Linked DNA regions of Homo sapiens: all the other regions are linked to region 4. The links are contacts of gene promoters, found by promoter capture Hi-C in human tissues and cell types (Jung and others, 2019). All regions are on one chromosome and are shown on one strand. The core of a region is centred on a gene start or on the middle of the fragment in contact, and the rest is flanking DNA. Distances in the headings are between cores, read along the strand shown. Region 1 holds the start of GNG7 (G protein subunit gamma 7). Region 2 holds the start of DIRAS1 (DIRAS family GTPase 1). Region 3 holds the start of SLC39A3 (solute carrier family 39 member 3). Region 4 overlaps PEAK3 (PEAK family member 3).

Evidence for each region. Contacts are between HindIII fragments. The study calls those that stand out against the background at their distance.
Region 1: a contact is called between the fragment with the promoter of GNG7 here and a fragment that was not itself captured in region 4, in 2 of the 25 tissues and cell types used here (dorsolateral prefrontal cortex and lymphoblastoid cells).
Region 2: the fragment with the promoter of DIRAS1 here is called in contact with a fragment that was not itself captured in region 4 in 5 of the 25 tissues and cell types used here (dorsolateral prefrontal cortex, heart left ventricle, lymphoblastoid cells and 2 more).
Region 3: a contact is called between the fragment with the promoter of SLC39A3 here and a fragment that was not itself captured in region 4, in 1 of the 25 tissues and cell types used here (dorsolateral prefrontal cortex).

Annotation. Positions count from the first base shown.
Region 1 is chr19:2,699,516-2,705,333 of GRCh38, forward strand. GNG7 (G protein subunit gamma 7) reads right to left here and starts at 3,179. Exons shown (of 5, transcript NM_052847.3): 1 at 3,131-3,179. RefSeq lists a silencer at 3,075-3,464. The HindIII fragment of the contact is 6,266 bases long and covers 218-5,818 here.
Region 2 is chr19:2,716,878-2,722,972 of GRCh38, forward strand. DIRAS1 (DIRAS family GTPase 1) reads right to left here and starts at 4,495. Exons shown (of 2, transcript NM_145173.4): 1 at 4,427-4,495; 2 at 1-998. The coding sequence starts at 929. The coding sequence ends at 333. The HindIII fragment of the contact is 24,571 bases long and covers 1-6,095 here.
Region 3 is chr19:2,736,329-2,742,261 of GRCh38, forward strand. It overlaps SLC39A3 (solute carrier family 39 member 3), which reads right to left and starts at 3,689. Exons shown (of 3, transcript NM_144564.5): 1 at 3,617-3,689; 2 at 720-1,051. The coding sequence starts at 929. RefSeq lists silencers at 2,785-3,052, 3,461-3,860 and enhancers at 3,171-3,220, 3,921-3,970. The HindIII fragment of the contact is 11,347 bases long and covers 881-5,933 here.
Region 4 is chr19:2,274,353-2,280,619 of GRCh38, forward strand. PEAK3 (PEAK family member 3) reads right to left here. Exons shown (of 4, transcript NM_198532.3): 3 at 4,232-4,761; 4 at 279-2,137. The coding sequence ends at 1,328. Among named protein-coding and RNA genes, the nearest start is that of PEAK3, 4.7 kb to the right of the region's middle. RefSeq lists an enhancer at 699-1,633. The HindIII fragment of the contact is 7,382 bases long and covers 222-6,267 here.

The DNA.
Region 1 (5,818 bases), core at 1,929-4,428, 420 kb after region 4:
CACTAAATGACTTAAAAGCAATCCTCAATTCTGAATGACCCCACTTCCTGCACATCAAAGGGGAGATGAGGTCGTTAAAGGAGAAAATAAATCAGTTTTGTCTATAACAAGGGTTCCACACTGGAGTATCTCTGTCCCTACAGGACGCTGGGTGATATCCGGAGACATCTGTGGTTGTCACAATGCGGGGAGCTCCTGGTGTGGAGTGGGTGGAGGTCAGGGATGCTGCTCGGCACCCTGCAGTGCCCAGAAGGCCCCACCCCAGAGGACAATCAGATCCCAAATGTCCGCAGCGCTGGGATAGAGAGACCCAGACGCACCCCATGAACTGAAGTTGTAAACTCAAAATTTCAAGCGTATAATCACAGCTCGATGTGGTTCCTTACGGGGTGCCCCTAATCAGAATGACCCAGGCAGCCTTCTCTTGAACAGGTGCATCTGTTACTTAACGAGCTTTGAGACTCTCCTGCCACCAGGTGTGGGCAAAGTCTTCTTTCTTTTCAGTTTTTTACTCACTTTTAATAATATGGAAACAGGCTCCATATTTGAGACTCTGTCTCAACATAATAATAATAATAACAATAATAATAAGACATATTTTTGTTGTTGTTGCAGTCCTTTTTTTTTTTTTCCTTTATTTTTTTGAGGCAGAGTCTCTCTCTGTTGCCCAGGCTGGAGTGCAATGGCGTGATCTTGGCTCACTGCAACCTCCACCTCCTGGGTTCAAGCGATTCTCCTGCTTCAGCCTCCCAAGTAGCTGGGATTACAGGCAAACGCCACTATGCCCAGCTAATTTTTGATATTTTTAGTAGAGACAGGTTTTCGCTATATTGGCCAGGCTGGTCTCAAACTCCTGACCTCAGGTGATCCACCCGCCTCGGCCTCCCAAAGCGCGGGGATTACAGGCATGAGCCACCACAACCAGCCATGCAGGTTATTTTTTAAAGCTTCTGGGGGTGACCCTGATGTGTGCTCCTAAGGTTGCAGGACTAGAGTCAAGTTCCAGTCACTTCCTTTCCTCTCCTCTGTGACAACCCAGTCATCCCACTCCTCCATCTCCAAACCCACCAAAGAAAAAAACTGGATTGAGTCCATTATTCTCCATGCTTCAGGTACCCTCACTATATGCTAGGAAATAGTCCATGCATACATCCCGTAATTCGACCCTGAGAGGCACATGCTACTGTTTTTATTATTCCCGCTTTGCAGGGGAGTAAACAACACCTCCAAAAGATGATACAGCCAAATCCGCAGCGAGAGGCTGGGTCGGAACACACACAGGCGCACCTCCCAGAGGCCCCCGACACTCCATCAAGGCAAGATCGCAGCATCCCACGACGGGAACAAGTTTGTGAACTTGGCATTTGCCTCGCTGACACCTAGCAACCGTGTGAAGACGCTTAGCTGGGGATCCGCTGCCTCTGTTCATCAAGCCTGTCTTCCACCGCCCACCTCCCAACCCCTAGCAACCCCCGCTCCCCAGGAAAAATAAAGTGCCACCCACGTCGCTCAATAGCACCGTCCCAAAAACTCCCACTTTAGTTCCTGAAAAATTCAGTCACCGACAGGAGCCTTTCTCCTTCCTGAAGCGTTCTCCTTGGCACCCTATATCCTAGAAATAAACCTCAAAAAGTATTCCGAACTCCCGTCTCCTTCAACTCACTGTTCCCCAGGGGGTTCTGCCCCGTGCCCAGTTCTAGAGCAAACAATTAACATCTCCCCCAAAAGTAGAGGGGTGAGTCCTCTCCAAATTCCTTTTAACTGGATCCTACCTGAGACACCTCCCCACACCCCGTTTTCCTCCTGATTAGTCAATGTCTAGCAAAACACCTGCCCCCAGGTGTCTCCAGCCTGGGACCTTACCCCCACCTCCCTTCTCACTAACTCACCCCAACTTCCTTCTCCCTGAACCCCCTTCCACCCCACACACTCACAAGCTCCCCATTTCCCCTGATAGCCCCCAGACCCTTTCTGGAACAAGCCTGACCCCCACCTGTATGCTCCAGCCACTCCCTGGCTCACCCCAGCTTTGTCCTTCTGCCCCTTTTCAGCTAACCCTAACCCCTGGGCCGTCAATCACACCCCCCCATCTTCACCAACCCCATTCCTCAGTCCTCTCCCCAGACAACCTCAACATCTAATTCCCTCTGCAGCCCCCTCTCCAATGAACCCCACTTCAAACTCCATCCCCAGCCCCCTCTCCAGCTCCCTGCAAACCTCAACCCCACTCCCAGCTCCCTCTTCAAAGAAGCTGCACCCTTGACTCAACCCCTGTTCCCCGCTCCAATTAACCTCAACCCCCAACACCATCCCCAGCGTCCTCCCCAGCTAACTCAGATTTCCAATTCCACTTCCAGCCCCCTCCCCAGCTAACCTCGACCTACAATTCCAGCCCCCTCCCCAGCTAGCTTGGACCTCCAATCCCACTCCAAGCCCCCTCGGCAGCTAACCTCGACCTGCGACTCTAGCCCCCTCCCCAGCAAACTCAAGACCTCCAATTCCACCACCAGCCCCTTCCTAGCTAACCTGGACCTGCAATTCCAGACCCCTCCCCAGCCAACTCAGACCTCCAATCCCGCTCCAAGCTCCCTCCCCAGCTAACCTCGACCTGCAACTCCAGTCCCCTCCCCAGATAACTCAGACCTCCAGTCTCACCCCCAGCCCCCTCCTCAGCTAACTCAGACCTCCAATCCCACCTCCAGCCCCCTCCCCAGCTAACCTGGACCTGCAACTCCAGCCTCCTCCCCAGCTGGCCCTGATTTCTAAGTGGAGTCCCAATGCCCAGACCCAATCCTTCCCCAGCTAACCTCGATCTGCACCCCCTGCCCCGTCCCCAGCTAACCTCGACCTGCAACTCCCGCCCCCTCCCCAGCTAGCCCTGAGCCCCAAGTGCAGTCCCAATCCCCAACCCCAGCCCCTCCCCAGCTAACTTCGACCCCCTAAGCGCAGCCCCGTCCCCAATTCCAACCCCAGCCTCCAGTTGCAGCCCGGGTCCCCAGACCCAGCCCCCCTCCTCAGCCGACTCCGACCCCCAACTCGGTCCGCAGCCGAATCCGAGCTGTCCCAGTCCCCTCTCCGGGACGCCGGCCGCGCCCTCACTTCCCCTGGCCCGGTTCGCGGGCGCCCTTACCTGCGCTCGGGCCCCGCGGCCGCCTCAGCCCCGCCGCGCAGCCGAACCCTCCGCCCCGGCCCGCGAGCGCTCGCTCCCCTCTGCGGGGGCGGGGCCGACACTCGGGGGGCGGGCCCTGGCGTCCCGGCAAGGCCAATCGCGAGCCCCGGCTGCGGGAGGCCGGAGCGGGGGCGGGGCGCGGGGCAGGCAGCGGGGTAGGCTGCGCCCAGGAGAGTGGGGCGGGGCTCCGGGCGCGGGCGGGGCCGGGGGCGGGGCGAAGAGCGGCTTTCCAGGGTGACTTCGTGACGTCAGGAAGGCGCGAGTAGTTTCGCGAGTTCGAATCCCGCGCTAGGTGAGCTGGTTCGAATCCTGCATGCCAGCTCCGGGGGCTCATTTGCTGGGGAAGAATGTCAGTGATCATAACTGCTGCACCGCTTTCTTGAAGACTTTATAGGCTCCCTCTCGTGGGACCCTCCGCATAAGGCCAGAAGGCGAGATTACTATCCACATTTTACAGAGGTGGAAACTGGGTCTCAGAAAGGTGAAACCTAAGGTCATTTGCCCAAGCCTGTCTCATCATTTCCAAGATTTCTCAGTTTCCTAACTCATGGCCCTGGATCCACAAATTCCTGAGCCCCAACACAGATGGAATGAACCAGAATCCTATAGGGAACTGGACCCTGAAATCTGTGTTTTGTTTAGTTTTCGTTTTGTTTTTGAGACAGGGTATCACTCAATTGCCGTGGCTGGACTGCAGTGGTGCAGTCATAGCTCACTGCAGCTTTGAAGTCCCAGGCTCAAGCAGTCCTTCCACCTCAGCCTTCCGGGTAGCTGGGGCCACAGGCACGCACCACCACATCCAGCTAATTTTTGTATTATTAGTAGAGACAGGGTTTCACCGTTTTGGCCAGGCTGGTCTCCAACTCCTGACCTCAGGTGATCCACCTTTCTTGGCCTCCCATAGTGCTGGGATTACAGGCGTGAGCCACCGTGCCTGGCCCTGGCTAATTTTTTTTTGTTAGAGATGGGGTCTTGCTATGTTGCCCAAACTGGTCTTGAACTCCTGGGCTCAAGTGATTCTCCTGCCTCTGCCTCCCAAAATGCTTGGATTACAGGCCTGGAATCTTCATTTTCCACAAGCTCCCTTGGGAATATTGGAAAACACTTTGTATGTCTCCAAAAGCAGTACACAGCCCTGGAAGGAAGATGGAGCCACCATATTCTGTGACCTCAGGGATTTCATCAGGCGCTGACACTGTGTGTCCTTGCCGCCCCACCTGAGCCCTGGGATTGGAGCTGCTGGCCAAAATCCAAGATAAACTTCCCCAGGGTTCCTGTCATCCCTGCAAGAACCTCCCTGCTCATCCTCTGGACTCCAGTGGCCTGCCCTGCAGGGCACAGAGAAACCTCCATCTCCCTGCTTGCCCTCCTCCAGGCTCTCCCCAGCTGGCATCCCCCAAGAGGAATGACTGTCTAGATAGAGCTTGGGAAGGGCACGGTGGCTCACGACTGTATTCCCAGCACTTTGGGAGGCTGAAGCGGGAGGATCGCTTGAGCCCAGGAGTTCAAGACCAGCCTGGCAACATACTGAGACCGCAACTCTACAAAAAAATTAAAATATTAGCCAGGCCTGGCGGCGCACACCAGTAGTCCCAGCTACTTCGGAGGCGAAAGCAGGAGGATCGCTTGAGCTTAGGAGGTTGAGGCTGCAGTGAGCTTTGATCACACCACTGCACTCCAGCCTGGGCGATAGAGTGAGACTCTGTCTCAAAAAAAAAAAAAAAAAGTGTTAAATACACAATGCAATATGATTCGGCCATAACAAAGAATAAAACCCTGTCATTTGCAGCAAAATGGATGGGACTGGAGGTCATTATATTAAGTGAAAAAGTGAAATAAGCCAGACACAGGAAGACAAATAGGGCATGTTGTCACTGATACGTGGGAACCAGAGAGTTGATCTCATGGAGGTAGAGAGTAGAATGATCAATACCAGAGGCTGGAAAGTTGTGTAGGTTGAGTGGGGGGGAAATGAAAAGAGGTGAGTTATGAGTACAAACATTCAGTTAGACAGAAGGAATACATTCTAATGTTTGATAGCAGAATAGGATGTATTCTGCTATCAAATATAGTATTAGAATAAATTCTAATGTTTGATAGCAGAATAGGGTGACTGTAGTTAGCAACAATGTATTGTACATTTCAAAATAGTTAGAATAATGGTGGCTTACGCCTCTAATCCAAACACTTTGGGAAGCCAAGGTAGGAGAATCCCTTGAGGGCAGGAGTTCGAGACCAGCTTGGGCAACATAGCGAGGCTTCATCTCTATTTAATTATTATTATTATTATTATTTTCTTTTTTGTGTGTGTGAGATGGAATTTCGCTCTTGTTGCCCAGGCTGGCATGCAATGACGTGACGTCAGCTCACCACAACCTCCGCCTCCCGGGTTCAAGCGATTCTCCTGCCTCAGCCTCCTGAGTAGCTGGGACTACAGGAACGTCCCACCACGCCAAGCTTATTTTTTAGTACAGACGGGGTTTCACCGTGTTAGCCAGAATGGGCTCGATCTCCGGACCTCGTGATCTGCCCATCTCGGCCTCCCAAAGTGCTGGGATTACAGGCGCCCACCCGGACACAGTGGCTCACGCCTGTAATCCCAGCACTTTGGGAGGCCAAGGCGGGTGGATCACCTGAGGTCAGGAGTTT
Region 2 (6,095 bases), core at 3,245-5,744, 440 kb after region 4:
CCTCCTCTGGTCCTGGTGGGAACAAGCAGCTCCTCTTGCCAGCTCCCCATCCTGTTTTCCCATCTGCAGGACAAGGGGGCCACCTCCGGCTCTTGGTTTTGGAGGGTACAGACAGAACAGGAGGGTGGAGAGAGAGCAGGGGAGGAAGAAAAGCCCCAGCCCTGCCTCGGGGTGGGCAGGGGCAGCGGAGGGGGGGGCGGTGGCCTCGGTTTCCCCAGCCGAGGTGTCGGAGGAAGGATGAGAGAAGAGGAGGAGGCCGAGGAGGGTGTCGGTGTTGGGGGAGGCAGCGGGGGTCAGTGGGGGTGGGCGGCGGGCAGGCGGGCGTTCCGGGCTCACATGAGGGTGCATTTGCCCTTGACGCGGTCTGTCCTCTTCTGCTTCCCGGAGCGCTTGCCGTCGATGTTGAGGCTCATGTTCCGGCGCGTCTCCAGCGTCAGCAGCTCCTGGAAGAGCTCCTTGACGTTGTAGTTCATCTTGGCCGAGGTCTCCATGAAAGCGCACTTCCACTCCTGGGCCACCGCCTGCGCCTCGCGCGTGTCCACCTCCCGCTGCGTCTCATCGCACTTGTTGCCCACGAGCATCACGGGGATGTCCTCCACGCTGCCCTTGATCTGCACGATGAGCTTGTAGATGGGCCCCAGCTCCTCCAGCGACTGCTTGCTGGTGACGGAGAACACCAGGATGAAGGCGTGGCCCTTGGAGATGGACAGGCGCTGCATGGCCGGGAACTGGTGGCTGCCGGTGGTGTCTGTGATCTGCAGCGTGCACACGCTCTTGTCGCAGCTGATCACCTGCCGGTAGGTGTCCTCGATGGTGGGGATGTAGGTGTCGCGGAACGTGCCCTTCACGAAGCGCAGCACCAGCGAGCTCTTGCCCACGCCGCCCGCCCCGAACACCACCACGCGGTAATCGTTACTCTGTTCCGGCATCTTCCCCGCGGCGGGTGGGCGGCCGGGGCCGGGAGGGCTGGTGCCAGCTGCAAGAACCCCAGACCGAGCCTGTGCAGAGAGGAGGGTCACACGTCAAAGGCCACCCAGGCTTGAGGGGACAGCCCCACGCCCCGGGGAGGGAGGAGGACATGGCGGCTTCTCAGAGGAGGTGGCTGCCGTGCCTCCTGCCTCCTGAAAAGGCCCATTTGCTTGTGGCTGACTTTGCAGTTCTGTCCCACAGGCGGGCGCACAGCCAACACCCTTTGCTTACTTCTCCCTAACAAAATCTGGGGCCTGAGCTTCCCCGGGGGACGCTGAGCTAGGAGAGGCGTGGGAGACGCCGGGATGCCCACGAAACTCCTTCCCCGGGTGTGGGTGTCCCTTCCAGGCTGTGCCAGCTTCCCCCTCTCTTCCCAGTGTGGCAGGGGCCCCTGGAAGCTAGCAGGCCTGGCTTCCACCTCTCGCTCCACACCTGCCTGGCTCTGAGACCTTGCCGAGCCATCATGCCACCCTGAGCCTGTTTGGTGGCTCAAACGGTGCCCGTCTCCAACAACCATGGGTCCCCTGCTCTTCCGCCAACCCAGAGATGGCCAATCCTCATGGAAGCCGCACATGGTCGGGTGTTTAAGATGCATATGTCAGGGCCGCAGCCCTAGGTGTGATGAATCGGTCGGCCAGGGCAACGGCCCTGGGAACTCGTATTTTATTTTATTCTTCTTATTTATTTATTTATTTTTAGACAGAGTTTCGCTCTTGCTGCCCAGGCTGGAGTGCAATGGCACAATCTTGGCTCGCCGCAACCTCCACCTCCCGGGTTCAAGCTATTCTCTTGCCTCAGCCTCCCAAGTAGCTAGGATTACAGGCATGCACCACAAAGCCCGGCTAATTTTATATTTTTAGTAGAGGCAGGGTTTCTCCATGTTGGTCAGGCAGGTCTTGAACTCCTGACCTCAGGTGATCCACCCACCTCGGCCTCCCAAAGTGCTGGGGTTACAGGCGTGAGCCACTGCACCTGGCCTTCTTATTTTTTTTAAAACCAAGTCTTGCTCTGTTGCCCAGGTTGGAGTTCAGTGGTGCAATCTCGGCTCACTGCAACCTCTGCCTCCTCGGTTCAAGCAATTCTCCTGCCTCAGCCTCCAGAGTAGCTGGGATTACAGGCATGCACCACCACACCCGGCTAATTTTTGTATTTTCAGTAGAGACGGGGTTTCGCCATGTTGGCCAGGCTGGTCTTGAACTCCTGACCTCAGGTGCTCCTCTCGCCTCGGGCTCCCAAAGTGCTGGGATTCCAGGTGTGAGACACCGCATCCAGCTGGAACTTGTATTACAGGGCTGCTCTCCTCACCTGCCATAAATGGGATCCTGAGGCTGGGAATCTGAGAACCACAATTTGCAAATCAGGGCACTGATTCCCAATAGCCGCCCCAGGGAGGAAGGGTCTTGCAGCCCAGGTGGGACACAAAAATACAAAATCCAGAAGCTGAACGGGAAAATCGCCACTCCCTAAACTCTAAAATCAAACTATGGCCTGGTGTGCCCTAGCCCCTCCCGTTCAGGTCTGAAGGATCCTTAGAATAGCACTTCCTGGGAGGGGCACCTCTTAGCCCCTCTCTTCCTTCTTGGGCTCAGAGAGGTCCAGCAGCCTGAGGAGGTCACACAGCACAGCAGATCCTGAAATGATGGAGGTGGGGGAAGAACGCTGGGGGGAGGGCGGGTGGCTTATCTCCAGAATTGATGTCCTCCCCTCCCCTTCCTCCTTCCAGGCTCTGGGGCAGCGGTGGGGGGTGGGGGAGGGGTGTTCCCCAGCAAGGTGGTCTACAGTGGGAGAGGAGGAGGAACCAGTTTCTACCTGCTGCACTGGGGGTGGGGGTGTGTTTATGGGGAGGGTCCAGAGGTTCCCCGGGGGTCAGTGGTTTGAACCTAAACAGGCAAATTCAAGTCCCTAAGCCTCCGTTTTCTCTTCTGTGAAATGCGAGCCACTGTTGGGGCAAGTAAGGTGACAAGGTGGAGAAAGGCCCTAGGCAGTGCCCTGTACAGCGGAGACCCCGATCACAATTGTGATCACAGTCACAAGGGCTTGGGGCCGGTGGGCAGGGCACTTGGCTGTGCCTGTTGGTTGCAAAGGCACCTTCTGGATTATCAAGGGTAACAGATTTGCCAGGAAAAGAAAAGAGGCTGATGAAAGCGCCAGCTGACACAGTCCCCAGTTGTGATGAGCCAGGCAAACTTCTGGGCGCCTCGGCAATGCCAACTCATGTGATTGGCTGCCGGGTTTGTGGACTACATGCATAGTAATTTCTCGGCATTCGGAGGAGGCTGGGGGTGCTGGTGGTGGGGGGGAGGCGGCCTGTGCTGCAGACCCTGCCCTTTCCTGGGTGGGCGCCCTGAGAGGCGGGCACGCTGCTGTGCAGAAAGACGCCACCAAGACCGGCCTGGGGTCCTAATGGCCATGGGTTCTGTGGACCCAGATCCAGCCTTTGCCTTGCTGCGGGCACTGAAGCTCCAGCCCCCATGAGCAGTACTGTCCTCCCCGCTGGGTCTGGAATCCCTGACCAGAAAGGCGCTTGCACTCAACAGCCCCGAAGCCCACGCCACTTCCCACCTCCACCGCCTGGGGGGTGCGGGTGGAGGGAGGGGGTCGTGGGCACCGAGGCAGGAGCAGGAGGGGCTGGCTCAAGGTCACAGAGCAGGGGGGTGGAGGCGCACAGCGGGGCTGGAAGCCCACCCTGCTTGGCTAGACTCCTGGGGTTTCCCGCCTGTGCGGGGCAGCCCACCCCCAGACGTCCAGGCAGGGCCAATCTACCCCAGCCCTGGGTCCCTGAAGCCCGGCTCCCGGCCGGGCACGGCGTGGTTGGTGGGGGCGGGGGTGTCAAAGCAAAGCTCAGGGTCAGGAAAGCAGAGAGAGCCGCGACCCAGGGGTCTAGCGGGGGTCACGCCTGACCAAGGGTGGGGCGGGGGTCTGACCCAGGGCCGCCTGGCCGGTGAGGGGTTTGATGGAGAAAGGGCCTGCTCTAGGGGGCCCGAGGGCGCAGAGGCACAGTGCGGGGCCAGCCCAGGGGCGACCCTTGACTCAGGAGGACCTCAGTGGTGGAGAGGAGGAGCCCACCCCGGGGAGGGGGCGCGGAGGGAGGGGCTTGGCTGGGCAGCGGGGCGGAGGGCGAAGAAGGCGGCTGCAGGAGGGAGGAGGCCCTGCCCGAGGGGACCAATGCGGAGAGGGGCGGCGGGGTGGGCCTCGGTGGGGCGGGCTCGGCAGGGGGGCGCCCTCCGGGTGGGGGAGGGGAGGCGGCCGGGAGCTGTCCAAGGTGAGCGCGGAGGGGCCGGCCGGGCCCGGCGGGAAGGGACGGGGGACGCCCGGCGAGGGGCCCCGGAGCCACGCGGGGAAGGGCCCGGCCCCAAGGCCCGGGAGGCTGGGGCCGGGACAAAGGAGGGACGCGCGGCGGGGAGGACGGCCGGCTGGGGGCTGCGCAGGGACCCCCTCCCCGCCCCGGGCCGCCTACCTGGGCCCGCTGGTCCCTGCGGCGCCGCGGCCGCTGCTCCTGCCCGCTCCGGTGTCCGCTGGCGCCGCCGCCCCCCGCCCGCCCGAGCCGCCGCAGTCGCGCCCGCGCCGTCCCCGCCCGCCGGGCCCCGCGCTCCGCCCCGCCCCGCCCCGCCCCGCCCCGCCCCGGGGACCCGCGCCCACGGGGCCGGCGCGCCGCCCGGCCAAGGTCACCGCCGCCCCACGCGGGACCCCTGCCCGCGCCCGGGGTGGGAGAGGTCGCCAGGATCCGGGACCCCCGCCCTGCCACGTAGCCACCTGCGCGCGCCCTCCCTCGGGGTGGGAGCTGGGGCCGCTTCCCGGGGAACCCCGAGTGGGGGCCAGGAGCCCGGCTTGGGAGGAGCAGAGTCCAGCCGGGGGTGGAGGGCTTTGGCAGAAATGCGGATAAAGGGGGTGCAGAACGGGACCCCTGAGGCCGGCTGGGGCCCGGTCACACGCAGGGCGGGGAATCAGAGGGGTGCGTTGTGAAATGAGTAAGTCGATAATCAACAATCAATGAACAGGTTTAGAAGCGGGCAGAGGCGGGAGGGTTCAGGTCAATGGGGTGCACCTGGAGGCCCACCCATCCCAGGGGCCTGGGCAGGGGCGGGATGGGGGCAGAAGCGGACTCAGCGCTCTGTAGGGCTGGTTTTGTGGAGGCGGAGGCAGCCCATGGCAGTCAGGCCTAGGGAGGTGGGGGGTGAGCAAAGGGGGCTGGCGCTGCTCTGCAGCGGATGGGTTTGCCGTTTTCGGTTAGGAAAATGTTTGTGTTCCCCCAACAGGAGGTGTCTTAGGGGAGCACTGGCTTTTCTGATGCGTCTGTGTGTCCACAAGAGACCATGGTTCCGCCTCCATTTTGGAGACCGGGAGGCCGAGGTTCCTTTTGGCCTCATCGGGCAGATCCCAGAGGAGACTGGACTTTGGGGTCTAGTGACCAGGCCAGAAGGTGCTCTCAGGGGTGGGTGCGGGACAGTCCCAGGCCGCAAGGCTGTCAGAGGAAGGCGCCCCTTGGTGGAGAGGCCAACTCTGGGACCCACAGGGGTCTCTCCAGAGTCAGAGCCATCAGTGGGTGAGAGGCTGGTCTGGAAGGTGGTGAGCTCCCCATCACCAGGCCTGTGAGCAGGTGAACCCCTTGGGCCCTCAGCTCCTGGGGTTCTCCATGACCCACCATTTCCATGGCCCTGGATGAGGTGGGCCCATCTGCCTCTGCGGAGACTTGGCACTGCCTCCAAGACCACTCAGTCCCCTCTCCTGTTGCCACTGAGGCTGGGGCACTGAGGTTCAAGCGGCTTTGGGGCTCAAGGAGCTCTATTTCTCCCTGATTTGACCCCACTCCCCCTCCTGGCCTCCAGACCCCTTCCTCCAGCCCTCCTTCCACTCTGCCACTCAATGCTCCAACTGCAACATGGGCCTCCCCTGCTCTAACGCCACCCATGGCTCCCTTCTCCCAGGCCAAGGTCCAGCTTCTCAGCCTGGCATCCATGGCCCGGCCTGAGTGCTCCTGGCGTGCACCTCCCTCCCACCCTGACCCCAGCCCTGCGGGAGCACCTCAGAGCATGGCCCGGCCCCTGACCCTCATCTGGGGGTGCCCTCAGCAGGAGATGGAGACAGCCCTGAGGGCAGACAAATCCCAGCTTCTGCTCTACATGGCT
Region 3 (5,933 bases), core at 2,439-4,938, 460 kb after region 4:
CCTCTGCATGACATGGGACTGTGCCCTCTGTCTTACACAGAGTCATGGCCATCTTCTCCATTTGCTGATGAAGGAACTGATCATGCTGGGGAGGTCCACGTGGCCAGGCTCTGAGGGCTGCCCCAGCCAACAGACACTGACAAACAGACACCTTCGGTCTGACAACCAATGAGGAACTGAACCTGGCTTACAACCACATGAGCTTAGAGGCCGACCCATCCCCGGTTGAACGTTGAGATGAGACCACAGCCCAGGAGACACTGTGACTGCTGCCTTGTGAGCTCCTGAAGCAGTGCCCAGACCCCTGACTCACAGAAACTGTGAGATGATAAACGTCTGTAGTCCTAAGGTGCTCAGTTTGCTATAATTTGTTACGCAACAGTAGCTGACTGATATAGGAACCGAAGAGAGGCCATGCTTTCCAGCTTCAGGACAGAGTGTGCCCTACCTAGGTGGGTAGTCTGGTCTGATTATCAGGTGACAACCGACAAGTCCACCTGTTGGGAATCCCAGGTCTGGTCCAAACCCCTTGTTTGGCCGGTAGAGCACAGAGACAGAAAGTAACCAGTTCACAATCACACAGCAAATTCACTTCCTACTTTCCGTCACCCTTACAGCATCAAGGCCTTCACTGAACTTGGCATCAGTGTTGAAAATGCATCAGAGTCCCTTGGCCATAAGGTGCCAAGGGCTGCTGCTAGTGCCCAGGGAGCCCTTACCTTTTCCCTCACAGCGGGCAGCAGAGCGTTGAAGCACGTGGCCAGAAACACCCCTCCTCCAAAGGTGTTGCAGAGAGAGAGGATCTTTTTCGAGCGATGGGCCTTCTCAAAATCTGTCTCGATGATCTTCACGGGGAGCAGGGAGCCGAGCAGCATGAAGAAGAACACGCCCACCATGCACAGGATTTTGGCCACTAGCAATTTCACCATGGTGGCGGCTTGGGCTGCTCTGGTCACTGCAGGGCCAAACCATCTGTGGGCGCACACCCAAGTCCCACGATGTGCTACCGAGCCCAACCACACAGTTGGAGGCTCATGTCTCAGTCCAGCAACTGTGAACATCAGGGGCACTGCATTAGCTTTCTTTCTTTTTTCTTTTTTTTTTTTTAGACAGAGTCTCGCTCTGTTGCCAGGCTGGAGTGCAATGGTGCAATCTCCGCTCACTGCAACCTCCGCTTCCTGGATTCAAGCAATTCTCCTGCCTAGTAGCTGGGATTACAGACACGCGCCACCACTCCCAGCTAATTTTTTTTGTATTTGTAGTAGAGACGAGGTTTCATCATGTTGGCCAGGCTGGTCTCGAACTCCTGACCTCGTGATCCGCCTGCCTCGGCCTCCCAAAGTGCTAGGATTATAGGCGTGAGCCACTGCACCTGGCCAGTTCTTCAGTTTTGGAACTCGGACTGGCTCTCTTTGCTCCTCAATCTGCAGACAATGTATTGTGAGACCCTGTAATCGTGTGCAATTAATACTTAATAAACTTCCCTTTATATATATAACTATTCCATTAGTTCTGTCCCTCTAGAGAACCCTGACTAATACACTGTCTCAAAAAAAGAAAAAAGTTCATCAAAATTAAAAAAAATCCAGGCTGGGTGTAGTGGCTCACACCTGCAATCCCAGAACTTTGGGAGGCCGAGGTGGGTGGATCACCTGAGGTCAGGAATTCGAGACCAGCCTGGACAACATGGTGAAACGCCGTCTCTACCAAAAATACAAAAATTAGCCGGCCGTGGTGGCAGGCACCTGTAATCCCAGCTACTCTGGAGGCTGAGGCAAGAGAATCGCTTGAACCCAGGAGGCAGAGGTTGCAGTGAGCCAAGATGGCACCACCGCACTCCAGGCTGGGCAACAAGAGCAAAACTCCATCTCAAAAAAAAAAAAAAAAAAAAACTAAATAAAATACAAAATTCCGCTCCTCAGTCTCCCTGGCCATATTTCAAGCGCTCAGTAGTCACACAAGCCTACTTGACTTCTGTGGTTACCGTATTTGACAGCAAAGGGAACACTCTCATCACTGCAGAACATGCTATTGGATGGTGGTGGTCCATGGCTTCCCCATGCCCCGAAATAAAGTCTAAACTCTGTACCCTGAGGCTGAAGCTCTGCATGACAAGCTCCTGCCTCGCCTCGGCCCTCACTGGTCCTTTCTGTGCCAAGCTTGCTCGTGCCTCAGGACCTCTGCATGGGTTCTCCTCTCTCCACCTGGAACACTGCTCTCTTTCCCCTGACCTTCCAGCGAGGCCTCCTTCTTCTTTCTTGCTTCTCTGCATCCAGGACCCCTCAAAAGGGCCTCCCTCGGTTGGGAGTGGTGGCTCACACCTGTAATCTCAGCACTTTGGGAGGCTGAGGTGGGCAGATCACCTGAGGTCGAGAGTTCGAGACCAGCACCTGAGGTCGAGAGTTCAAGACCAGCCTGGCCAACACAGTGAAACACTGTCTCTACTAAAAATACAAAAATTAGCTGGGTGTGGTAGTGGGCACCTGTAATCCCAGCTACTTGGGAGGCTGAGGCAGGAGAATCACTTGAACCCAGGAGGTGGAGGTTGCAGTGAGCCAAGATCAAGCCATTGCACTCCAGCCTGGGTGACAGAGTAAGACTCTGTCTCAAAAAAAAAAAAAATTAGCTGGGCATGGTGGTACGTGCCTGTAATCCCAGTTACTCGGGAGGCTGAGGCAGGAGAATTGCTTCAACCCAGGAGGTGGAGCTTGCAGTGAGCCGAGATCGCGCCATTGTACTCCAGCCTGGGCTGCAGAGCAAGACTCCGTCTCAAAAAAAAAAAAAAAAAAAAAAAAAGGGCCTCCCTCTCTGCCCCTGGCTGACTCCTGCCCTAAACCATATCCCTGTACCCGCCGGAAGGCCTGCTGCAGAACAGATACTCAAAAACCGCTGGCTGAACACATGGACGAGGGGAAGCGTGTGGCCACTGATAAGGGCCGCATTTTACCTGATGCAATGGGCCAAAGTGAAGTCGGTTTCACCCTGGACCCCAAAATGTCACCGTTCTTAGGAGGAATCTCAGCTCCTCCCCTGTCCTTGAGTTTTCCCCAACTGGGTTTTCTCCCCCACCATCAGCCCCAAGCGCCTCATGGCCCCGCTACCTCACTGCATTCAGGTCTTCGGGTCACTGCTCAGATGTCTCCACTCAGAGCTCTCCCCGCCCCCTTCCCTGGTGTTATTTTCTTTTATTTTGTGCTACAGAGGGAGCTAGGAATTACATTATTTTAAGTCATTTAAAGTCGTCCCTCCCCCCCGGCGGTGAGCTGGGCGGGACCAGGCTGTCTGTCTTGCTCAGGGCCAGCTGCACCCAGCGCAGAGCCACCCAGGCACACAGTAGGCGCCCAATAAAGACCTGTCCGGCATCTGGATACCTCAGTCTGTACAGTGAAGGTGAGGGTGGCCTGCACGCTCTCAAACCGGAGGCTGCTCGGGCCGGGATGAGGAGGGCACGGGCTCATTCATTCAATCAGCACTTATTGAGCGCCTTCTGTGTGCCTCGCGCTACCGGGCACCGGAGACGGGCCTCGGCTAACGTGCGGGTAGAGTCCAACAGACCCCCGGCCGCTCAGCGCCGCCCCGCCCCGCCGCCCCAGGTCCTCTCTCTGCCCGCACCTACCTCCCGGGGGCCCCTCGTCCGCCGACTGGCGCCGCTGCACGCCCAACGGCCGCGCAGTCTCGACCCCACAGACGCGGCCCGGAGAGGCCCCGCTCGGCGCGGCTGGTCCACGCCCCGCCCACGCCCCTGCCCATTGGCCTCCCCGAGACCCGCTGGCAGAACTTTCCATACTATTGGCTGCGAAACCTGCCACTCATATGCGACTCCACCTCTCCTACCGGCACAGGAAAGGGGTTTCCTCCCGCTGAGCGGCGGGCGCAGCCACCAAGCGGCCCCGGCGGGAAACCCGGATTGGCGAGGAACGGTTCCGGCAGGGTTGGGTTTCCAGAGCTGTCCAGGGGCGCCTGGTGCTGAATCCCGCTTGGAAAGAGGCTTGGAGGTGGATGGGAAGGGATTTCCAACGGAGGCGGCTCCTCTCTCAGCGTCCTCGCTGCTGATCCCCTTACCGACGGCTGAAGAAGCAGATTCATCCCTTCAACAAATCTCTGTTGATAGGCAGGAGGAGTAAGTCCAAGAGATCGACTGTACATCATGGTGGCTACAGCTCGTAACAATGCATTGCATACTGCAAAATTGCTAAGAAAGTAGATGTTACATGTTCAAACCATGAAAAAATAAGTATAGGAGGTAACGCGTAAGTTAAAAACCAAATCTTGGCAGGGCGCAGTGGCTCACACTTGTAATCTCAGCACTTTAAGAGACCGAGGCGGGAGGATCGCTTGAGTCCAGGAGTTCAAGGCCAGCCTGGGCAGCATAGTGAGACCCCATCTCTAAAAAAAAAAAAAAGGTTTTTTTTGAGACAGAGTCTCGCTCTTGTCACTCAGGCTGGAGTGCAATGGCGCGATCTTGGCTCACTGCAACTTCCGACTCCCGTGTTCAAGCGATTCTCCTGCCTCAGCCTCCCGAGTAGCTGGGATTATAGGCGTGTGCCACTATGCCGGCTAATTTTTGTGTTTTTAGTAGAGACGGGGTTTCACCATGTTGGCCAGGCTGGTCTTGAACTCCTGACCTCAGGTGATCCTCTTACCTTGGCCTCCCAAAGTGCTGGGATTACAGGCATGAGCCACTGCGCTTGGCCTGATGACTTGATTCTAACAAATAGAAAATGGCAAATGAATGGGATGTCATTCTGCGATTAGGCTATGAGAGATTGTGACTTCTGTTTTGCCAGCAGAGCCTGTCTCTCGCCTTCTCAGCCTACGTGTCTTGACAAAGCAAGCTAAGATGCTGGAGAGATCCAGAGGGAAAGGAACTGAGGGTGTCCTCCAGCCAACAGTCAGCAAGGCAATGAGACCCTCAGCACAAGCGTCCATAAGGAACCAAATGCTACCAACAGCCATGAACGTGATCATGGAAGAGGGTCCTGCCCCAGTTGAGCCTTTGGATGACTGCTTCACTTCAATTGCAGCCTTTGAAACACCCTAAAACAGGGCTGCATGTGGTAGCTCATGCCTATAATCCCAGCACTTTGGAAGGCCGAGGTAGGCAGGTCACTTAAAGTCAGGAGTTTGAGACTAGCCTGGCCAACACGGCAAAACCCCATCTCTACTAAAAATACCAAAATTAGCCAGGCATGGTGGCGGGCACCTGTAGTCCCAGCTACTAAGGAGGCTGAGGCATCAGAATCACTTGGACCCAGGAGGCAGAGGTGACAGCGAGCTGAAATCATTACCATTACACTCCAGCCTGGGCAACAGAGTGAGACCCTGTCTCAAAAGAAAAAAAAAGAAGAAGAAGAAGAAGAAAGAAAGAAAAACAAAGACCCTGAAAACAGAAGACCCATATGAACTGCATCTGAATTCCTCACCCACAGAAACTGAGATAACACATGCTGTTCTAGCCACTTAGTTTTGTGTTTGTTTGCTTGTATTTTGAGACAGGGTCCTGCCCCATCACCCAGGCTGGAGTGCAGTGGTGCAATCACAGCTCACTGCAGCCATGACCTCCTGGGCTCAAGCAGTCCTCCCACCTCAGCCTCCCGAGTAGCTGGGAGCATGTGCCACCATGCCCAGCTAATTTTTTACCTAATGTCACACAGGCCAGTCTTGAACTCCTGGATTCAGGAAACCCTCCCACCTCAGCCTCCCAAAGTGCTGAGATTACAGGCATGAGCCACAATGCCTGCTGGCACTAAGTTTGGGGGAAAATTTGTCATATGGCAGTAGGTAACTAATACACATACATACTAGAAAAACTATAGGTTGTACTAAGTTCTGTGAAGAAAGAATGAGAGAGACTTCTGTGCAGGAATTAGCCAAGTCAAATGTACTGAGAAGGCCAGGTGTGGTGGCTCACACCTATAATCCCAGCACTTTGG
Region 4 (6,267 bases), core at 2,663-5,162:
GATCCTCCCAGGACTGCCATGGGGAATGGAATGGAGGGGCAACTCTGAGTCTCCAGGAAGGAAGCCACAGGCAAGGGCAGTGCAGTGTGTCAGAGGCATAAAGGAAGACTCCATCCCCCTCCAGTGAGTCTCCTCTGTGCCTGTTTATTACATCATCCTGTGGTATTAAGTGAGCACCTACTGTGTGCCAAGCCTGGCCTTTGCCCCCAGGGAACTCACAGCCTTGTGGACAGTAACAGAGGAATAAATGCTCCTGAGAGTGGGCGGAGAACGCAGGGTAAGGAGCTAGCGATGGCCCAGAGTGGGCACCTTTATTTGTTTAGAGAAAGTGAAACTGTAGCCGGGCGCGGTGGCTCACGCCTGTAATCCCAGCACTTTGGGAGGCCGAGGCGGACGGATCACGAGGTCAGGAGATGGAGACCATCCTGGCTAACACGGAGAAACCCCGTCTCTACTAAAAATACAAAAAATTAGCCGGGCGTGGTGGCGGGCGCCTGTAGTCCCAGCTACTCGGGAGGCTGAGGCAGGAGAATGGCGTGAACCCGGGAGGCGGAGCTTGCAGTAAGCCGAGATCGTCTCAAAAAAAAAAAAAAAAAAAAAAGAAAAAGAAAGTGGAACTGGAACAGTATGGCAGAGGGAACAGCCTACACAAATGCTTGGGGGCGCGAAAGAAGTTGGTGTGTCACGGAGGAACAGGGAGGGAGGCAGGGTGGGCGCAGAGGGATTGAGGGGAGGTGGCAGGGAACCGCGGGGACTGTTTTAGGGAAGGTGAGTCCAGACCCCGCTGAGATGAGCTGGGTGTCTAAGGTCCCAGGGAGCCTTCCCTTCCCGTGACACCACCAAGCAATTCTCCACCAGGGACAGGGGCATTCACATGCCCAAAATCACTGGCCATCTTCAGCACAAGGGGGTGCTCCAGAGCCAGGAATGCCTCTGGTCCCGGCATTGGCCTCTCATGGAGACAATGACAGAACCCACGCGGAAGAGCGCCCTGGCTGCTGGGGAAGGCAGAACACAGAGAGACATTGATCAGCGGGGTTGTCCACACCTGGAAGTGGCGTGGGGGCCCTGGCTTCAGAGAGCTGCTGCCCAACACAGGAGGCGCTGGCCAGCCCCCAGCCCTGGAGGGGCAGCTGCATTCCTGGGAAGCCCTTGACCCACATCCCCAGCACGGGAGGGGAGGCTCTGGAGTGGGGCATTGCTCTCTCTGCTGCGCTCCTGGACTCTGCAGGAAGAGGGTGTCTTGGCTATCATGGAGACGCTGACCTCAGCCCCAGCCCTGCCTCCTGGGCAGGCCTGGACCAGGTGTGTTCGCCCTGGGTTGGGGTCAGTCCCACAGCAGCGCCAGGGCCTGGCCCATCGAGGACTCGGTGGCCTCGGCCAGGTATTCGCAACACAGCCAGTCCTCGAGGCTGGGAGCTTCCCCACCTGCGGCCCGCTCTGCTAGGCGCAGGACCAGCAGCCCGCGGCGCACCCGCAGCCAGGGCCCGAGCGCTCGGAGCCAGGGACCAAGCGGTGCTCCGCGGCCGCGCAGCTCAGGCCCGGGCCCCCAGAGCAGCGCCTGCAGCGCGCCCCGCGTCCGGGACGCCGAGGGCCGCAAGCGGGTCAGCTGTGCTGCCAGGAGCTCCAGGCCCGCGGCCAAAGGCGTGGTCGAGGGCGCAGCAAGGCTGAGCAGCGCTCGGAGGAGGCTGCCCAGCTGCGGCGCGTGGGGGCCCGGGGATCCCGGGGGTCCAGGGGGCTGCAGACAGACGCGGCCAAAGTCAGTGAGGAGCAGGCGTGGGGGCCCCGTCGTCGCACAGCCCCGAGGTGCCACCAGCAGCAAGTTCTCCGGCCGCAACTCGACTAGGGCCGCGCCCCACGCCTCCAGGAACTTCAGGGCCGCGCTCAGCTGCAGCAGCAGCAGGGCCACAGCCCACACGAACTCCTCCGGCGGCTGCGTGCAGGCCTCCGCCAGCCACTGCGCCACCGTGCGCTCTGGAACCTCGGCTGCCAGCGCCACTGCGCCTCTCCAGGGCGCCCCGGGCAGTGTGCCTTCAGGCACCAGGCCACACAGCCCCTGCAGATTGAAGTGTGGAGACAGGGAGGCCTGCAGCTCCAGGCCCCACGGGTGGGGCACGTCCGCCCCGGGCTTGGGCACCTGCAAGGCAGAGGGGGTGTCGGGGCCTGGATCACTGGGCCCCCCACAAGCACCGCCTGCCCCAGTGCTACCTGCCCCGAAGCCTCCCACGCACACCCCCAAACTGCCCCCACTACGGCTAGGGGCTGCCTGCATCCCTCCAGCAGCAGGAGGTCAGTGTTAATTTGGAAGTTAGTCACCAGTAAGGACTTTCAGGAAAGTTAAGCCAGGGAAGAAGATGTTCCTGGGCAATGAGTTCGAAAGCAGATTCCTGGGCCGGGCGCGGTGGCTCACGCCTTCCCAGCACTTTGGGAGGCAGGGGGATCGCTGAGGTCAGGAGTTCGAGACCAGCCTGGCCAACGCAGGGAACGCTCGTCTCTACTAAAAAATGCAAAACTAGCTGGGCGTGGTGGCGCGCCTGTCATCCCAGCTACTTCGGAGGCTGAGGTGAGAGAATCGCTTGAGCCCGGGAGGTGGAGGTTGCAGTGAGCCGAGAACGCGCCACTGCACTCCAGCCTGGGCAACAGAGTGAGACTCTGTCTCAAAAACAAAAAACAAAACAAAAAACACAAAAGCAGATCCCCGGCCAGAGAGGTGTGGGAGGGGTTTTGACAAGAGCTCCAAGGCCATACCCATGGCCCCATACTTTAGAAACATGGTTTCCTGGGTTAACTGCGTTGATTCACGTGTTAGTTGCAAAATAAACAAGTCTAATATGGTCTGGATCTGTGTCCCCACCAAATCTCATTCCCCAGTGTTGGAGGTGGGGTCTGGTGGGAGGCGACTTGGATCTTGGGGGTGGTTTATCATGAATGGCTCAGCACCATCTCCCTTGGCACTGTCGTTGGGATAACGAGTGAGTTCTCGTGAGATCTGGCTGTGTAAAGGTGAGTAGCACCTCCTCCCTCCCTTCCTCCTGCTCCCACCGTGTGAGATGCCTGCTCCCGCCTCGCCTTCCACTATGATTGGAAGCTTCCTGAGGCCTCCCCAGAAGCAGAAGCCACCAGAACCATGAGCCAATTAAGGCCCTTTTCTCTATAAATTACCCAGTCTCCAGTATTCCTTTTTCTTTTCTTTTCTTTTTTCTTCTCTTTTGTTTTTCTTTTTTGAGACAGAGTCTCACTCTGTCGCCCAGGCTGGAGTGCAATAGCCCAATTTTCGAATCTCAGCTCACTGCAACCTCCGCCTCCCAGGTTCAAGTGATTCTCCTGCCTTAGCCTCCAAGTAGCTGGGACTTCAGGTGCGCACCACCGCGCCCGGCTAATTTTTGTATTTTTAGTAGAGATGGGGGTTTCACTATGTTGGCCAGGCTGGTCTCGAACTCCTGACCTCATGATCTGCCCGCCTTGGCCTTCCAAAGTGCTGAGATTACAGGCGTCAGCCACTGTGCTGCCCAGCCTTTTTTTTTTTTTTTAGACGGAGTCTCGCTCTGTCGCCCAGGCTGGAGCGCAGTGGTGCGTTCTCGGCTCACCGCAAGCTCTGCCCCCTGGGTTCATGCCATTCTCCTGCTTCAGCCTCCCAAATAGCTGGGACTACAGGTGCCCACCACCACGCCCGGCTAATTTTTTGTCTTTTTAGTAGAAACAGGGTTTCACCGTGTTAGCCAGGATGGTCTGTATCTCCTGACCTCGTGATCTGCCCGCCTCGGCCTCCCAAAGTGCTGGGATTACAGGTGTGAGCCACTGTGCCCGGCCTTTTTCTTTTTTTTTTTTTTGAGACGGAGTCTCACTCTGTTGCCCAGGCTGGAGTGCAATGGCCCAATCTTGGCTTACTGCAACCTCTGCCTCCCGGGTTCAAGCAATTCTCCTGCCTCAGTCTCCCAAGTAGCTGGGTTTACAGGCGCCCGCCACCACACCTAATTTTTGTATTTTTAGTAGAGGCTGGGTTTCACCATGTTGGCCAGGCTGGTCTTGAACTCCTGACCTCAGCTGATCCGCCCGCCTTGGCCTCCCAAAGTGCTGGGATGACAGGCGTGAGCCACCGCGCCCGGCTCCAGTATTTCTTTACAGCAGTGTGAGAACTGACTCACAGAAAGGCCAAATGAAACAAGCCCTGGGTTATGTCTAAGATGGGGCACTGGGGACACCTCAGAGAGGGTGGGGCTGTGGGGCTCACCTTGGCGACCAGGATGTGCCAGGCGTCCTCGTGCGCGCGCACCACGCGGTAATACAGGGCGTCCCCGCTCTCTGCGCAGGGTGAGCTGTCTAGGAGGCGGAAGCTGTGGCCGGGGTGGCAGGGCCCGGGGTGGCCCCCCATGAGCCGGGCACGGAGCCGGGCATAGATGGTACGGAGGCCCTGCAGCTGCCGCGCAGCCAGTGCAGTGTGCACAGCCTCCGGGCTGTGCAGATCGCGGAGGGAGAGGCCCAGTGGGGCGTCAGCCGGGCCAAAGGTCAGCTCTGCAGGGAGACAGGCTGGTCCCACTGCAGCCTGGCTCTTGTCCACACTGTGGGACCCCAGAAAGGGTCTCCGAGGCGGCTGTACTTGGATGGAGCTGGGATGGAGGGTCCTGCGGGTGGGCAGTGACTGGGTCCGGGTTAGGATCTTCTTGGGCAGGGGTGGGGGCAGGGGCTCTGGGTTGGTGGAGAGGGACCCAGGGGTCCGGAGGCGGCAGGCCTTGGAGGGCAGCAGGTGGGCACGGATCTGACCTGCAGGGAGAGACAGTGGGGGAGGGTTGAGGACAGGCGGAGTGGGAACGGGACACGTGACTCCACCTCTCAGCCTCGGTTTCCCCATCTCTAACATGGAAGTAATGAGGCTGGGCGCCGGTGGCTCATGCTTGTAATCCCAGCACTTAGGAAGGTGGAAGCCGAGGCAGGAGGATCACTGGAACCTAGGGTTTGAGACCAGCCTGGGCAACATAGTGAGACCCTGTCTCTGCAAAAATTTTTTAAAAATTTGCCGGACGCGGCCATGCACAATGGCTCATGCCTGTAATTCCAGCACTTTGGGAGGCCGAGATGGGTGGATCACGAGGTCAGGAGATCGAGACCATCCTGGCTAACACGGTGAAACCCCGTCTTTACTAAAAATACAAAAAATTAGCCGGGCTTGGTGGTGGGCGCCTGTGGTCCCAGCTACTCGGGAGGCTGAGGCAGGAAAATTGTGTGAACTTGAGAAGTGGAGCTTGCAGTGAACCGAGATTGTGCCACTGCACTCCAGCCTGGGCGGCAGAGCTTACAGAAGGGGAAACTGAGGCTTATAGGAGGATGGATCAGTTTCAGAGAGTGATGCCACCCAGCACTCAGCGACTCCCACTTACCTCCGTGGCTTTGCACAAGCGTCTGTCTTGCTTTTTTTCTTTTTTGAAGTCTTGCTCTGTCGCCCAGCCTGGAGTGCAGTGGCACGATCTCGGCTCACTGCAACCTCCGCCTCCTAGGTTCAAGCGATTCTCCTACCTCAGCCTCCCAAGTAGCTGGGACTACAGGTGCCCGCCCGCCACTATGCCCAGCTAATTTTTGTATTTTTAGTAGAGATGGGGTTTCACCATGTTAGCCAGGCTGGTTTCAAACTCCTGACCTCAGGTGATCTGCCTGACTCGGCCTCCCAAAGTGCTGGGATTACAGGCTTGAACCATTGCACCTGGCCTTTTTTTTTTTTTTTTTTTTTTTTTTTGAGATGGAGTCTCCCTCTGTCGCCCAGGCTGGAGTGCGGTGGCTCAGTCTTGGCTCACTGCACCCTCTGCCTCACAGGTTCAAGCGATTCTCCTGCCTCAGCCTCCCGAGTAGCTGGAATTACAGGCATGCACCACCATGTCTGGCTAATTTTTGTATTTTTAGCAGAGACAGGTTTTGCCATGTTGGCCAGGCTGGTCTTGAACTCCTGGCCTCAAGTGATCCTCCTCCTTGGCCTCCCAAAGTGCTGGGATTAAAGGGTGGGATTACAGGCATGAGTTACCGTGCCCAGCCTCTCTCTCTTTTTAATGGTATATATTTTTTTCTATTTCATGGCTCACTGCAGCCTTGACCTCCTGGGCTCAAGGGATCCTCCCACCTCAGCTTCCCGAGCAGCTGGGACTGCAGGCTCTTGACACCATGTCCATCTCATTTTTTTTGTTTTGTAGAGATGGGGGGCGGGTCTCATTATATTGCCCAGGCCGGTCTTGAACTCCTGGCCTCAAGGGATCCACCTGCCTCAGCCTCCCAAGGTGCTGG